Regions from separate parts of the Homo sapiens genome. Here all the other regions are linked to region 5. Evidence: promoter capture Hi-C in 16 types of primary human blood cells and fetal thymus (Javierre and others, 2016). All regions are on one chromosome and are shown on one strand. Each heading gives the region's core, a stretch centred on a gene start or on the middle of the fragment in contact. The rest is flanking DNA. Distances are from core to core; before and after follow the strand shown. Region 1 overlaps ATF1 (activating transcription factor 1). Region 2 overlaps ATF1 (activating transcription factor 1). Region 3 holds the start of ATF1 (activating transcription factor 1). Region 4 holds the start of DIP2B (disco interacting protein 2 homolog B). Region 5 holds the start of CELA1 (chymotrypsin like elastase 1).

Evidence for each region. Contacts are between HindIII fragments. The CHiCAGO score rates a contact against its expected background, and 5 or more counts as called.
Region 1: a fragment that was not itself captured here is called in contact with the fragment with the promoter of CELA1 in region 5 in 2 of 17 cell types (M2 macrophages and activated CD4 T cells); the score reaches 5.8 in M2 macrophages.
Region 2: a fragment that was not itself captured here is called in contact with the fragment with the promoter of CELA1 in region 5 in 6 of 17 cell types (activated CD4 T cells, total CD4 T cells, total B cells and 3 more); the score reaches 7.6 in activated CD4 T cells.
Region 3: a contact is called between the fragment with the promoter of ATF1 here and the fragment with the promoter of CELA1 in region 5, in 8 of 17 cell types (neutrophils, endothelial precursors, fetal thymus and 5 more). The highest score is 11.1, in neutrophils.
Region 4: the fragment with the promoter of DIP2B here is called in contact with the fragment with the promoter of CELA1 in region 5 in 1 of 17 cell types (fetal thymus); the score reaches 6.0 in fetal thymus.

What each region holds. Positions count from the first base shown.
Region 1 is chr12:50,780,083-50,782,847 of GRCh38, forward strand. It overlaps ATF1 (activating transcription factor 1), which reads left to right. Exons shown (of 7, transcript NM_005171.5): 2 at 58-156. The coding sequence starts at 64. Among named protein-coding and RNA genes, the nearest start is that of ATF1, 17 kb to the left of the region's middle. The HindIII fragment of the contact is 3,767 bases long and covers 1-2,765 here.
Region 2 is chr12:50,816,127-50,818,826 of GRCh38, forward strand. All of the region lies in intron 6 of ATF1 (activating transcription factor 1), which reads left to right. Among named protein-coding and RNA genes, the nearest start is that of TMPRSS12, 25 kb to the right of the region's middle. The HindIII fragment of the contact is 4,813 bases long and covers 1-2,700 here.
Region 3 is chr12:50,762,566-50,765,365 of GRCh38, forward strand. It overlaps ATF1 (activating transcription factor 1), which reads left to right and starts at 1,536. Exons shown (of 7, transcript NM_005171.5): 1 at 1,536-1,742. RefSeq lists silencers at 1,490-1,569, 1,790-1,879 and an enhancer at 2,300-2,399. The HindIII fragment of the contact is 10,692 bases long and covers 1-2,800 here.
Region 4 is chr12:50,503,592-50,506,291 of GRCh38, forward strand. DIP2B (disco interacting protein 2 homolog B) reads left to right here and starts at 1,394. Exons shown (of 38, transcript NM_173602.3): 1 at 1,394-1,649. The coding sequence starts at 1,550. RefSeq lists a silencer at 1,697-1,806. The HindIII fragment of the contact is 3,121 bases long and covers 1-2,626 here.
Region 5 is chr12:51,345,283-51,347,982 of GRCh38, forward strand. It overlaps CELA1 (chymotrypsin like elastase 1), which reads right to left and starts at 1,397. Exons shown (of 8, transcript NM_001971.6): 1 at 1,341-1,397; 2 at 513-595. The coding sequence starts at 1,356. The HindIII fragment of the contact is 4,543 bases long and covers 1-2,700 here.

The sequences.
Region 1 (2,765 bases), core at 79-2,578, 570 kb before region 5:
ATACTGTAAACATTCTGTATCATATTTAATTTTAACGGACTTTTTTCCCCCTTATAGTTGATTATGGAAGATTCCCACAAGAGTACCACGTCAGAGACAGCACCTCAACCTGGTTCAGCAGTTCAGGGAGCTCACATTTCTCATATTGCTCAACAGGTAAGGGAGGGACTGGCCAAAATACTGAGCTTGTTAGGAATATTTTATATGCAGATTAATCTCGTTTCAGACTGATTATTAATGTGTTTTATTTTGGTTTTTGTTTTTTGGGTTTTTTTTTTCGAGGCAGATTTTTGCTCTAGTTGCCCAGGCTGGAGTGCAGTGGCATGATCTCGGCTCACTGCAACCTCCACCTCCTGGGTTCAAACAATTCTCCTACCGCAGCCTCCCAAGTAGCTGGGACTACAGGCATCTGCCACCACGCCTGGCTATTTTTTGTATTTTTAGTAGAGATGGGGTTTTACCATGTTGGCCAGGCTGGTCTCGAACTCCTGACCGCAGGTAACCCACCCACCTTGGCCTCCCAAAATGCTGGGATTACAGGTGTGAGCCACCAGACCTGGCATTAATGTTAAAAAAAAAAAAAAACAAAACAAGCAAAGGCCAGGCGCAGTGGCTCACGCCTGTAATCCTAGCACTTTGGGAAGTCAGGGCGGGCGGATCACGAGGTCAAGAGTTCAAGACTAGCCTGACCAACATGGCGAAACCCTGTCTCTAATAAAAATCAAAAATTAGCCAGGTGCAGTGGCGGTTGCCTGTAATCCCAGCTGCTCGGGAGGCTGAGGCAGGAGAATCGCTTGAGCCTGGGAGGTGGAGGTTGCAGTGAGCACAGACTATGCCACTGCACTCCAGCCTGGGCAATAGAACGAGACTCCATATCATAAAAATAAATAAATAAAAAATAAAATAGAAAAACAAGCAAAAAAGACTGTATAAAATGTTAAAATATAAGAAAAGAAGGTGGACTTTAAATATCTTGTCAAGATCATTTAGTTTTATTTTCTTTTAAACGAAGTATATAGTCATCTCTCAGTATCTGTGGGAGACTGGTTCCAGGACGTCCACAGATACCAAGATCTGTGATGCTTAAAGCCCCTGATAGAAAACGGCATGGTATTTATATATAACCTACATATTTTCCTGTATACTTTAAATCATTTCTAGATTACTTTTAATACCTAATACTATGTAAATGCTATGTGAATAGTTATACTATATGACAAGAAAAACAGTCGGTACATGTTCAGTATAGAGAAATTTTTTTTCCTGAATATTTTCAATCTGTGGTTGGTTGAATCCACAGATGTGAAACTCATGGATGCAGAACCCATGAATAAAGAGGCCTAACTGTATTTAGAGTTGTTTTCTTTGTTTTTGTTTTTGTTTTTCAAGGCAGGGTTTCGCTCTGTCGCTCAGGCTGGAGTGCAGTGGTACGATCTCGGGTCACTACAACCTCCGCCTCCCGGGTTCAAACGATTCTCCTGCTTCAGCCTCCCGAGTAGCTGGGATTACAGGCGCCCACCACCACACCCAGCTAATTTTTTGTATTTTTGGTAGAGACGGGGTTTCACCTGTTGGCCAGACTGGTCTCAAACTCCTGACCTCAGGTGATCCACCCACCTCAGCCTCCCAAAATGCTGGGATTACAGGCGTGAGCCACCGTGCCCGGCCAAAAAATTTTAAAAATTAGCTGGGTGTGGTGGCACTACAACACCTGTAGTAACAGCTACTTGGCTGAAGCAGGAGGATTGTTTGAGCCCAGGAGTTCAAGGCAGCAGTGAGCTATAATCATGCCACTGCACTCCAGCCTGGGTGACAGAGTGAGACCCTATCTCCAAAAAAAAAAAAAAAAAAATCATGCATGAGTGTAAGAGCCATTTAAAGTGCAAGATGAGACTAACGGATTTTAATGTTAACAATACACAAAGTTCAGACTGTACATGGCAAATAACCTTTAAGAAACTATAACTTGCTGAGTTTTGCTGCTGTATCAAAGAATACAATGAAATGAAAAGGCTTTTAAAACACTACACATCTTTTCTAATTGCATATCTATGTGAGGGCAGATTTTCTTCATATAATTCAACCAAAACAATGTATGATAACATAATTAATGTAGAATCAGATAAGAGATTTCAGCTGTTTTCTTTTTCTGTTTTTTTTGTTTGTTTGTTTATTTGTTTGTTTGTTTTTTGAGACAGTGTCTCGCTCTGTCGCCCAGGCTGGAGTGCAGTGGCGCGATCTCGGCTCACTGCAACCTCCGCCTTCCAGGTTCACGCCATTCTCCTGCCTCAGCCTCCCGAGTAGCTGGGACTACAGGCGCCCGCCACCACGCCCGGCTAATTTTTTGTATTTTTACTAGAGACAGGGTTTCATCGTGTTAGCCAGGATGGTCTTGATCTCCTGACCTCGTGATCCACCCGCCTCAGCCTTCCAAAGTGCTAGGATTACAGGCCTGAGCCACCACACCCGGCCTTTTTTTTTTTTTTTTTTTTAGTAGAGACAGAGTCTCACTATGTTGCCCAGGCTGGTGTCAAACTCCTGGGCTCAAGTGATCCTCAGCATCCCAAAGTGCTGGGATTATAGGTGTGAGCCACTGTGGCCAGCCTTTTTTTTTTTTTTTTTTTTGAGACGGAGTCTTGCTCTGTCGCCCAGACTGGAGTGCAGTGGTGCGATCTTGGCTCACTGCAACCTCTGCCTCTTGGGTTCAAGTGATTCTCCTGCCTCACCCTCCCGAGTAGCTGGGAATACAGGTGCCCACTGCCACG
Region 2 (2,700 bases), core at 86-2,585, 530 kb before region 5:
GAGTTCAATGCAAGCCTGGGCAACATACCCATTGCTACAAAAGATAAAAAATTAGCCAGGCATGGTGGCGTGTGCCTAAAATCCCAGCTACTCGGGAGGCTGAGGTGGGAGGATTGCTTGAGCCCAGGGGGTTGAGGCAGCATGATCGCACCACTGCACTTCAGCCTGGGCAACAGAGCAAGACCCTATCTCAAGAAAAAAGAGAGAATGGAAAAATAGGTAACAGAGACTGGGAACGGTGAGGGGCAAGGAGGAGGATGAAGAGAGTTAAAGGGTACAAACCCATACACAGTAAGATAAAAGGAATAAATTCAGTGTTTCATAGCAGAGTAGGATGACCACCCTTAACAAAAACCTATTAATACTCAGGTGATGGACACCCTGAATCCCCTGACTTGATCGCTACACATTATATACATGTAACAGATTTTCTCATGTGCTCCATAAATATGCACAGAAACATTTTAATGGAAAAAACCATACAGGCCAGGCGTGGTGGCTCACACGTGTAATCCCAGCATTTTCGGAGGCCAAGGCAGGAGGATCACTTGAGCCCAGGAGTTTGAGACCAGCCTGGGCAATATAGGGAGACCCCATCTCTAAAAAAAATTTAAAACATTAGCTAGATGTGGTAGAGGCAGGAGAATCACTTGAACCTGGAGGCAGAGGTTGCAGTGAGCCATGATCACGCCATTGTACTTCAGCCTGGGCAACAGAGCAAGACTCTTGTCTCAAAAATAAAACAAACAAAAAAAAACACACAAGTAGTTAATAATCATATAAAAGACTACTCAGCCTTATTAGTAATCAAAGAAATACACATTAATGCTACACATTTAGATACCCTTTATACCCACCCAATTGGCAAAAATTTTAAAGTCTAACCAAGAGTTGGCAAGGATTTGGAACAATGGTCAGGAATTCATAGATACTACTATAGGAGTGTAAATTGATGCAGCCATTTTGGAAATTAGGCCTTATCTTGTACAGTTGACGTGGGTATACTCTGTGACCCAGCTGTTTTAGTCTGTGTGACTGAGAGGAACTTGGAGGAAGTATGTATAAGAATTTTCATAGCAGCAAAAAATCAGGAAACAACCTCAAGATTCATTGATAACAGAATAGGTACATATTGAGCCTAAACATAAAAATGGGGGGAAAAAAGAATAGGTACATAAATTGTGACTGTATTTATAGAATGGAATGTTTATTTGTAATGACTGAATGAATAATCATTTCAACATGAATAAATCTTAGAAAAATTGAATGAAAAAACAAGTTGCAACAGAATACACAAAGTATGATATTTTATAATTTTAGAAAATAAATGATAGCAGTTTTAGGGTCATATACGTATATACTACAACTATAAAAATAAGAAATGAGATGTCACGTAGCAAAAATTATAAAGTGGTAATACTGTCTGTCATTGGGCATATAAGGAAAAGGGTACCTCACATACATTACTGAGGGAAGTACGGAGTTTTATGGTATCTACTTGCCCCAACATTTCTACTTGTATGTGACAAAAGATACCATAAAGAAACTTAAAAATAAGTCTGTTAACTGGGAAAAATATTTGCAACTTTTATATAAAGAGAAAGAATTACGAGATGTATAGGTTATATAAAGATTTATTTCTGTAAATAAGAGACCTAACAGAAGGAAACCGGTCTGTGAAAGATGGCCTTGTAAACATGAAATTATTCCAAACTTTGTGCATAATGAGGGAAATGTTAAAGCAGTGAGGTTCGCTTTTTGTCAGCCGCTAGACTGACAACCATTTTAAAATGTTCATAACAGGCACTCTCATGTACTGCCCCTGGGAATGTAAATGGTACAAATACTCTGGAGGACATTCTGGCATTTTTTCCCTTTTTTCTTTCTGGTTTGACTCTGGGATTTTTTTCCTTCCTTTTTTCCCCCCTTATTTCTCTGTACTTCAATGAATATAAATTGGCACTATCTCTTGACTTTAAGTGAATATAGCTTGTGATCCTTCAAGAAATACATGTGTAGAAATACACGTAAAGAATGGAGGCTGAGTGGGTGGCTCATGCCCATAATCCCGACACCGTGACCAGGAGTGAGACCAGCCTAGGCAACATACTGAGACCTCATCTCTACAAAAATAAAATTAGCTGGTGTGGTGGTGTACACCTGTAGTCCCAGCTACTTGAGAGGCTGAAGTGGGGATATCTTGAGTCCAGGAGGTCAAGGTTGCAATGAGCTGTGATTGTGCCACTGCACTCAGCCTGGTTGACAGAGTGAGACCCTGTCTCAAAACAAAAGAAGAAAAAAGAAAAAGAATGTTTACTGGAAACCACTTAAAACAAACAAACAAACAGAGCTTAAAGGTAAAAATAAAGTCTTTTTGTGAGGGGAAAGATTTTGTACAGTCCTTTTAAAGATGTGTACTAAAAAGCAAGTTGCAAATAGTATCTACATATATAGCATAAAAATCTTAAAATAGTACTGTTTCTTTCTTTCTTTCTTTTTCTGAGACAGAGTCTTGCTCTGTTGCCCAGGGTGGAGTGCAGTGGCGCGATCTTGGCTCACTGCAACCTCCACCTCCCAGCTTCAAGTGATCCTCCTGGGTCAGACTCCCAAGTAGCTGGGATTACAGGCATGTGCCACCACAGCTAATTTTTGTATTTTTAGTAGAGATGAGGTTTTGCCATGTTGGCCAGGCTGGTCTCG
Region 3 (2,800 bases), core at 286-2,785, 580 kb before region 5:
TTGCTGAATGTCAATAGCTAAACGTTAGTGACCTCTTAAGACTGTCTGGCAGAGTAAATCTTCGGCTTTATATCACATTCTCCGACCCAAAGGGCCAAAAATAGGCAAAGCTCTCTCCACTAAATCGGTTTCCTAAATTGGGGATCTCAAACTAGTAAAATTTCAGAAAACTTTCGGAACTTTTGTCAAGAGCATACTAAAAAAGTTTATCTTTTGTCGTTTACTATCATTAAAGCCATAAAACAGCATTTTACAAGGAAATTTTAAAAATTAAGAATAAGGCATAACTCCCTTCCAGAGAGGTAGACCCAAAAATATTCTGAAGTTTTTGTAATGCATTAAAATGACGGCATAACATTTTATTAACACTCTGTTACGTTTCTTTTTTCTTTTTTTTTGAGACAGTTTTGCTCTTGTTGCCCAGGCTGGAGTGCAACGGTGCGATCTCGGCTCACCGCAACCTCCGCCTCCCGGGTTCAAGCGATTCTCCTGCCTCAGCCTCCCAAGTAGCTTGGATTACAGGCATTCGCCACCACACCCGGCTACTTTTGTATTTTTTAGTAGAGACGGGGTTTCTCCATGTTGGTCAGGCTGGTTTCGAACTCCCGATCTCAGGTGATCCGCCCTCCTGGGCCTCCCAAAGTGCTGGGATTACAGGCATGAGCCACCGCGCCCGGCCACATCGTTATGTCTCATTGTAAATCCGTTTCTGTAGAAAATCCTTCCACATGGGTTAAAGGACACAACTCATTGTTACTTTATGGGATTAAGAAAAATCTGAGTAAGGCCGGGCACGGTGGCTCACGCCTGTAATCCCAGAACTTTGAGAGGCCGAGGCGGAGGATCACTTGAGCCCAGGAGTTCAAGACCAGCCTGAGCAACATAGAGTCCTCATCTCTTCAAGCCGAGCGTGGTAGCGCGCGCCTGTGGTCCCAGCTGCCCCATAGGCTGAGGTTGGAGAATCGCTTGAATCCCGGGGTTGGAGGCTGCAGTGAGTCGAGATCGAACCACTGCACTACAGCCTGGGCCACAGACCCCCGTCTCAATCTCGGAAAAAAAAAAGAGACTCCATCTAAAAAAAAAAAAAAAAAAAAAAAGCTGAGGAAGTCAAAGCCTTCACTCTTCATTTCTCCTTCCAAGAGGACAGGGCCGGCGTCGGTCAAGGTCAATTGGCAGGTGAGTTGACAGCGCCGCCACTAATCGATGAAAACGCCCCCCGCGAGCACCCAGCTGCTCATGGCCTCCGGAAGCGGACGTAGGGCGGGTGGGGTACAGCTCCTAAGGAGAAACGGAACCGCAGGCACCGTCCCTCTCCCGCTGCAGCCTGAGGAACGCGTTCCGAGGAACCCCTAGCCACAAGTCAGGACCGCGTACAAGATGGCGGCGCGTCACGTGGGCAGCGCGGTGACGCAGGACGGCGGCCCGCGCGGAGGCAGCGCCATAGCCTACCCCAAACGCACACTAGTGCTCAGTTTTGCCCCCCTCCCCTCCCCCGCCCCCGCCCCCGCCCCCAGGCTTGTGTAGATCATGCCGCCAGTAGCGGCCCTGACTGCCGAGGAAACGGTAGCTTAGGACAGTTGGCTGTTAAGTGACACTGATTCTCCCCGCCCCGCCTGACCCCCGAGAAGGAGGCTTGTCCCCCGCTGCGTGAGGGGGTGGGGAAGTGGGTAGTGAATTCGGATCTACCTGGGAGGGGGGAGTGGAAGTTCCCGCCCCGGAGAGCGGCGAGGCGGCAGCCACAGGTAAGTGGGGGGCGGGGAGGGACGTGCCCCGTGGCCCGGGCGGGGAAGGACGCGGGAACGTGGCGCCGGCGGGGACGCAGCGCGGGTCGCGCGCCTGGTGGGGGTCGCGCGCGGTGGTGGCGGTGGGGGAGGGGCGCAGCGGCAGGGGGAGGGGCCGCCCGCGCTTCCGGCCTCCGCGCCTCGGTGCAGAGCTGCGCTGCGCCCTTCCAGTCGTGCGTCTCCTCCTTTCCCTCGCCCCCAAATAAAAGTAAAGCCCGAAACCGCCCGCCGCGGGGTGGCTTTCGCCTCAGAAGCCGCCCTTTGCAGTCGCAGGCGCTAGCTCTCCGTGGGAGGTCTCGAGGTTGGGCCCGGAGCCGGGCGGAGGGCGGCGCGGATATGGCCTCGGCGCGGTGTCCGCCGAGCGGAGCCCGGGTCTGGTTAACCCCGCGACAGGGTCCTCGAAGCGCGTCGGCGCTGGCGACCCTGAGGGAAGAGGCGCGCCCCTTACCCTCCTGGAGCTTGCAGTCTAGCGGGCAACCGACGCACGGGCATTGCGCACGCCCCAGACAGTCCTGGAGAGATGCGCCTGGCAGCGGAGACAGAGTGGGGACAGTAGGCGGCTTTACCCCTGGCTAGGAATGACACAAGGGCGTCTGTACCCTTTGGGATGGGCGACCCAGCCGAGGGTGACTTTCTCTTTGATCTTGTATGTCAAAAAACGAAGCCTGGCATTTCTCACTTTGATCGACGCCGTGCAGCTGGCGGCTGAATCGCTTTGAAATGATTGCAATGTGAAATAATGTCTGGTTGTGGCGCTAGTGTTTTGAAGAGATTGGGCAACTGGTAGTCTTTGAGAACCTTTAGGGTTCAGAAGCTCGGCGTGGATCTGGCAGGCATCTTTGTCAAACTGGCCTCACCTGTGATGAGTTCGTAGGCATTTATGTCTCAGAATGCATTTTAACCTGAGGTTTTTGTTAACAGAAATGCGTTCTTCTAAAATGCTCTTTTTTCTTGGAGTTTATCATATGCAGTTATCTCCGTGTCTTAATTAGAATCAATACTGTTGCCCTAAAGTCGAA
Region 4 (2,700 bases), core at 144-2,643, 840 kb before region 5:
ACCTTGGCCTCCCGGGTTCAAGCGACGTTCCTACCTCAGCTCCCCCAGGTAGCTGGGATTACAGGCATGTGCCACTACTCCCGGCTAATTTTTGTGTTTTTAGTAGAGACGGGGTTTCGCCATGTTGGCCAGGCTGGTCTCGAACTCTTGACCTCAGGTGATCCGCCCACCTTGGCCTCCCAAAGTGCTGGGATCATAGGTGTGAGCCACTGCACCTAGCCTTGGACCCTCTTCATATTAAATTAAAATTAATGTTTTTGGAACACCTATTAGGCCACAGAGTGAGGAGGATGAGTTAAAGTAAGTTCCCTCCTTGTAAGTAGTTAGAAGTATAGAAAGAAAGAAGTGGACCTGCTCTCTATTGTCTTTTTCTTTTCTTTAGACGGAGTGTTTGCTCTCTTGCCCGGGCTGGAGTGCAATGACGCGATCTCAGCTTACTGTAACCTCTGCCTCCTGGGTTCAAGTGATTCTCCTGCCTCAGCCTCTTGAGTAGCTAGGAGTACAGGCATCCGCCACCACGCCCGGCTAATTTTTGTATTTTTATTGGAGACGGGGTTTCACCATGTTGGCCAGGCTGGCCTAGTACTCTTTTTTTTTTTTTTTTGAGTCGGAGTCTCGCGCTCACGCTCAGGCTGGAGTGCAGTGGCGTGATCTTGGCTCACTGCAAGCTCCGCCTCCCGGGTTCACGCCATTCTCCTGCCTCAGCCTCCCGAGTAGCTGGGACTACAGGCGCCCGCCACCACGCCCGGCTAATTTTTTGTACTTTTAGTAGAGACGGGGTTTCACCGTGTCAGCCAGGATGGTCTCGATCTCCTGACTTCGTGATCCACCCGTCTCGGCCTCCCAAAGTGCTGGGATTACAGGCGTGAGCCACCGCGCCCGGTCGGCTAGCCTGGTACTCTTAACCTCAGGTGATCCACCAGCCTCAGCCTCCCAAAGTGCTAGGATTACAGGCGAGAGCCACCGCGCCTGTCTTTTTAAAAGCTAAAACTGAAACGGAAACAGAGCTCCTGGCAGATAGGACCAGGAGCCACAGCGAAGGAGGTGGCCTGTGATTAGGTTTTTATAAATGGGCAGGTATTAATCAGGGAAAATGGAGTAAAGGACACGATAGACATACATTGCTAAGTCTAGTATTGGAAAAAGTAAGGCCTGGGACCCCTAAAAACTTGCTCGAGAGTGAAAGGTAAATGCTATGTGTCCACACTACTGTGGTAAAGCCGACAGTCCATACCATGAGCCCATTTCGCGCAGGGAAATTCGAGTGGTGGGCTTGGGCCCGTCGTTCTGGTAGCTTCCCAGTAGAGGGCGCCGTAAGCATATGCGTCTTCAGCCTGACTGGGCTGGAGAGGCGGTGCGTCCTCCTGGCCGGGGGGCGGGGGCCGTCGCGCTCACGTGACCTTTGCTCATGGCGGCGGCGGCGGCGGCGGCGGTGCTGGTGGTGCTCGGCGGCCGGAGCCGGATCCTGTAGCCGGGTGTGGGCCCGTGTCTGTCCGTCCCTCCTTCGGCCCCCTCTCTTGTCTTCCGGAGTGTGGCTGGCGGAGCTGGGATGGCGGAACGAGGCCTGGAGCCGTCGCCGGCCGCGGTGGCGGCGCTGCCGCCTGAAGTGCGGGCGCAGCTGGCGGAGCTGGAGCTGGAGCTCTCGGAGGGTAGGAGCCGGGCCGGGGAGAGGGCGCCCGGGGCCCTGCGGATCGCGGCGACTTGGGAGACAGGTCCCCGCCGCGCGCTCTGGCGGCCGTGCGGCGAGGGGGACGAGGGTGTAGAGAACCTGGCCTGGCGCTCCACGACCGTTTTCCCTCCTCTCCCACCCCATTAAGTGGTTTCCTGTGGCTTTCATTGTTTTCCCATGGAGGGGACTAAGTAAGGGCTTGTGGAAAGGTCCTCCCGGGCCCACACTGCTTCTGCGCTTCCTGCCCCCCAAAACCCGAGACAAAGCTGCGCCCTCCCGCTTCTGCCCAGGCGTCTGGCCCAGGTGGGGTGAGGGGTAGGGCTGCGAGGAGGGTGGCTGACAGCTTTCTCCTTTCCTCTCCCCTTTTCGTGGAGGGCTCCACGCCTTGTTCCAGCCCCCCCTTCCCCCTTTCAAAAAGAGACACATGGGAAATCCGCAGCATCATTTCTTCTCTTTCCTTTAACAATGCGCGATGCCTCCCCAGTGACAGGAGTGAGACACAAGCGGGTGAGCCATTTAGGGTCCTAGGAAGATAAGAAGCAATGGCATTAACCCAGAGAGACACACGGTGCTGCTTTTAGACCACCTTTGTCATAAGAAGTTTTTTTTTTTCCTGGTGCCTGTTATTCGGGCCGAATTTTCCGCATCTGGTCACCTTTTGGAGTCTTTGATGAAGGAAGGAGAGGAGGCTACCGTTTACTTGCAAATCCTGGCTGGCATTCTTTCTTTTGACAATGGATTGGGACAGGGAGGGTTCGATTTATTTTCAGAATTAAAAAAAAAAAATGGGATAAATCAAGCCACTGTTATTAGAGAACTCCTTGTACAACAATGAGAGAAACACAGTGCTCCGTTGTGGGCATGTGATCAGGCTTCTGGGGCAGTTGTGATCAGTTCTGTGTAAAGTTCCTGTTTTTATCACTGGCTGCCCCTGAGACAAAAGCAGCATTTTCTCCAAGCTTGATACCAGTACTTTGATTGTGTCTCCAGAGTTGCATATTCTTACTGAGTTCCTTGTGGAAGGCCCTCTT
Region 5 (2,700 bases), core at 147-2,646:
CTTCATCAGTTAATTTGCCAGGTTTACATATTTAGATCACTTAAATCAGGGCCCAGCTGCCCTGTTAGCAAAGTGGAAACTCTAAATAGCCAACTAAGCAGCATGCTGTACGTGTGTGTGTGTGTGTGTGCGCGCACATGCGTGCAAGCATTGTGACACACACAGTGTGGAGTGGTGTGCGTGTGAGTTTCAAGGTATGTGGAGTCCAAGGTGACTGTCTGGCACCCAGTCTTTCTTGCGTGGCACAAGTGCTGTCGCTGAGAATATAAATGTATCTTGTGTTTGGGTGTGTGCCTTGAAGAGGGACTGTGGTTGGTGTATAAATCCCCTCCTCCAAGCCTTTTGCATTTAGAAAACCACCTAAGCCTGATCCCATCCATCTTTAAAATCGAGAACCTAGACAATTGGAGAGCTGCTTGTTGATAGGGACATGCACAAATACACATGATACCTTATGTCATGCACTGAGCTCTTATTTGGGTGGAAGTCTGGGGCTGGGAAGGAACACCCACCTGAGAGGGCCAGGAATTCCTCCCGGCCTCAGTCCCTCCGACTACGCGGGCATTGGTTTCCGGAAGGTCCTGGGTGCTGTGTCCTTTGTGGGGCAGAAGAAAAGTGAGTGATGACTAAGCATGGGGTCAGCCAGGGGTAGGGGTGGGGGGTGGCGATTGTGCTTTGAGGAATGTTAGCCTTGTCTGCAAATTCACAGTTCCTCTCTAACGAATGAGGGGCCCAGCTGTGAGTTCTCTGAGCCCCTTTTGAAAACAGGGGTGCCTGGGTGCCTTCTGTTTCCCCCAGGTGTTCCCAGAACTCCGGCATGCTATGAAGGACCTCTCTCAAACCACCAGGCTAGGCCCCAGAGGCTCCTTGTGGTCTCCTCTTTGCTCAAGATCACCCTTTGGCCTGAAGAGACCCCCCCCCACTCTTTGACCCCCACCAGCCCCCTAATGCTTTGGCAAGATTCTCCAGGGTTCAGGGCCTGCAGTGCACACCCCAGCCAGGCACCTGCTGAGGAAGTCCTCCTGTCAATGGGGGTGGTGGGGAAGCCCAGGGACCCACCCCACTACCAGATGGGGCTTCTCTCTGCTTTGTGGCCCAGGGACCTGCCACCCAGAGGGGCCTGAATAGCCAGTGGCCCTGACCTTTTCTATCTTGGCCTCCAGGAGAGTAAAGGACGCTCTGCAGGCAGAGCGTCCCACCTGCCCTGGGACAGGGTGCTGGCCTGGACTTAGGGAAAATTTGCTGACCTTCCTGCCCAAGTCCCCCTCCCTATAGACCTCAGGCCACATGATCCACTTACCATAAAGGACCAGGGTTGCGACTGGACCATATCCACTTACCATAAAGGACCAGCATGTTGCCGATGGAGTAGACCACTGCCTTCTTGCTTGGACCAAGCCCTCTTTATACTCCTCTTAGCAGCAAAGCTGACTGTCTTCTTGCCAACTGGCAGGGCTGAGGGTGCAAGGCAGGGAAAATCACAAGTGACATGGAAATACAAATGAAAATATTTCTTTTCAAGTAAACTAATGTATCTGTTATTCAAAGACAGAACAAGGCCAGGGCTGAATTAATCATCTGCTTTTAATTGAAAAGCATCCAACAAACTCTTTTTCAGAAATAAGATGGAGAACCAGGGCTGGTTTTTCTCTAAGGGAGCACCCCTTGTCATCCATCACTCTCTCGTTGTCCTCAGTGGCACCATAAATGCAGAGACTTGCCCTGTGCACTAGCAGCTGGAGGCCAGGGGGATAGTGGAAGAGGGGGGAGTGGTTAGCAAGGGCAAGGAAGACACAGCAACTCTCTCTGCCCAAAGAGGGAGATGGCACATGCCCCCAGGATGCAGGCATAGGTGTAAATGCAGACACAAAAGCCAAATAGATGCAGTGGAGATAATTCTGGGGGAGGAAAGTACTGAGAAACAGGCTTGGGCCCTCTCAGATGGAGAGCCAAGAAGGGGCTCCCAGAGGAGAATATGAGGCAGGGTAGAGGAGGGGATCCTTGGGATGTGAAGACAGTCTGAGGGCTATGAGGGTAGATGGAGGGTGGAGGGCAGAGGGAGAACGAGGGTAGGAGCCGAGGTTCCTGCAGGAGATGAAAGGCTTTGTTCATCACAGTTCGTAGAGGAGAGAGAAGGGAGTTGCGGCCGGGCGCGGTGGTTTACGCCTGTAATCCCAGCACTTTGGGAGGCTGAGGCGGGCGGATCACAAGATCAAGAGATCGAGACCATCCTGGCCAACATGGCGAAACCCCGTCTACTAAAAATACAAAAATTGGCCGGGCGCGGTGGCTCATGCCTGTAATCCCAGCACTTTGGGAGTCGGAGGCGGGCGGATCACGAGGTCAGGAGATTGAGACTACTCTGGCTAACACAGTGAAACCCCGTCTCTACTAAAAAAATACAAAAAATTAGCTGGGCGTGGTGGCAGGCGCCTGTAGTCCCAGCTCCTCGGGAGGCGCAGGCAGGAGAATGGCGTGAGCCCGGGAGGCGGAGCTTGCAGTGAGCCGAGATCGCGCCACTGCACTCCAACCTGGGCGACAGAGCGAGACTCCATCTAAAAAAAAACAAAAACAAAATACAAAAATTAGCTGGGCATGGTGGTGCGCTTCTGCAGTCCCAGCTAATCTGGAGGCTGAGGCAGGAGAATCGCTTCAACCTGGGAAGCGGAGGTTGCTGCACTCCAGCCTGGAGACAGAGCA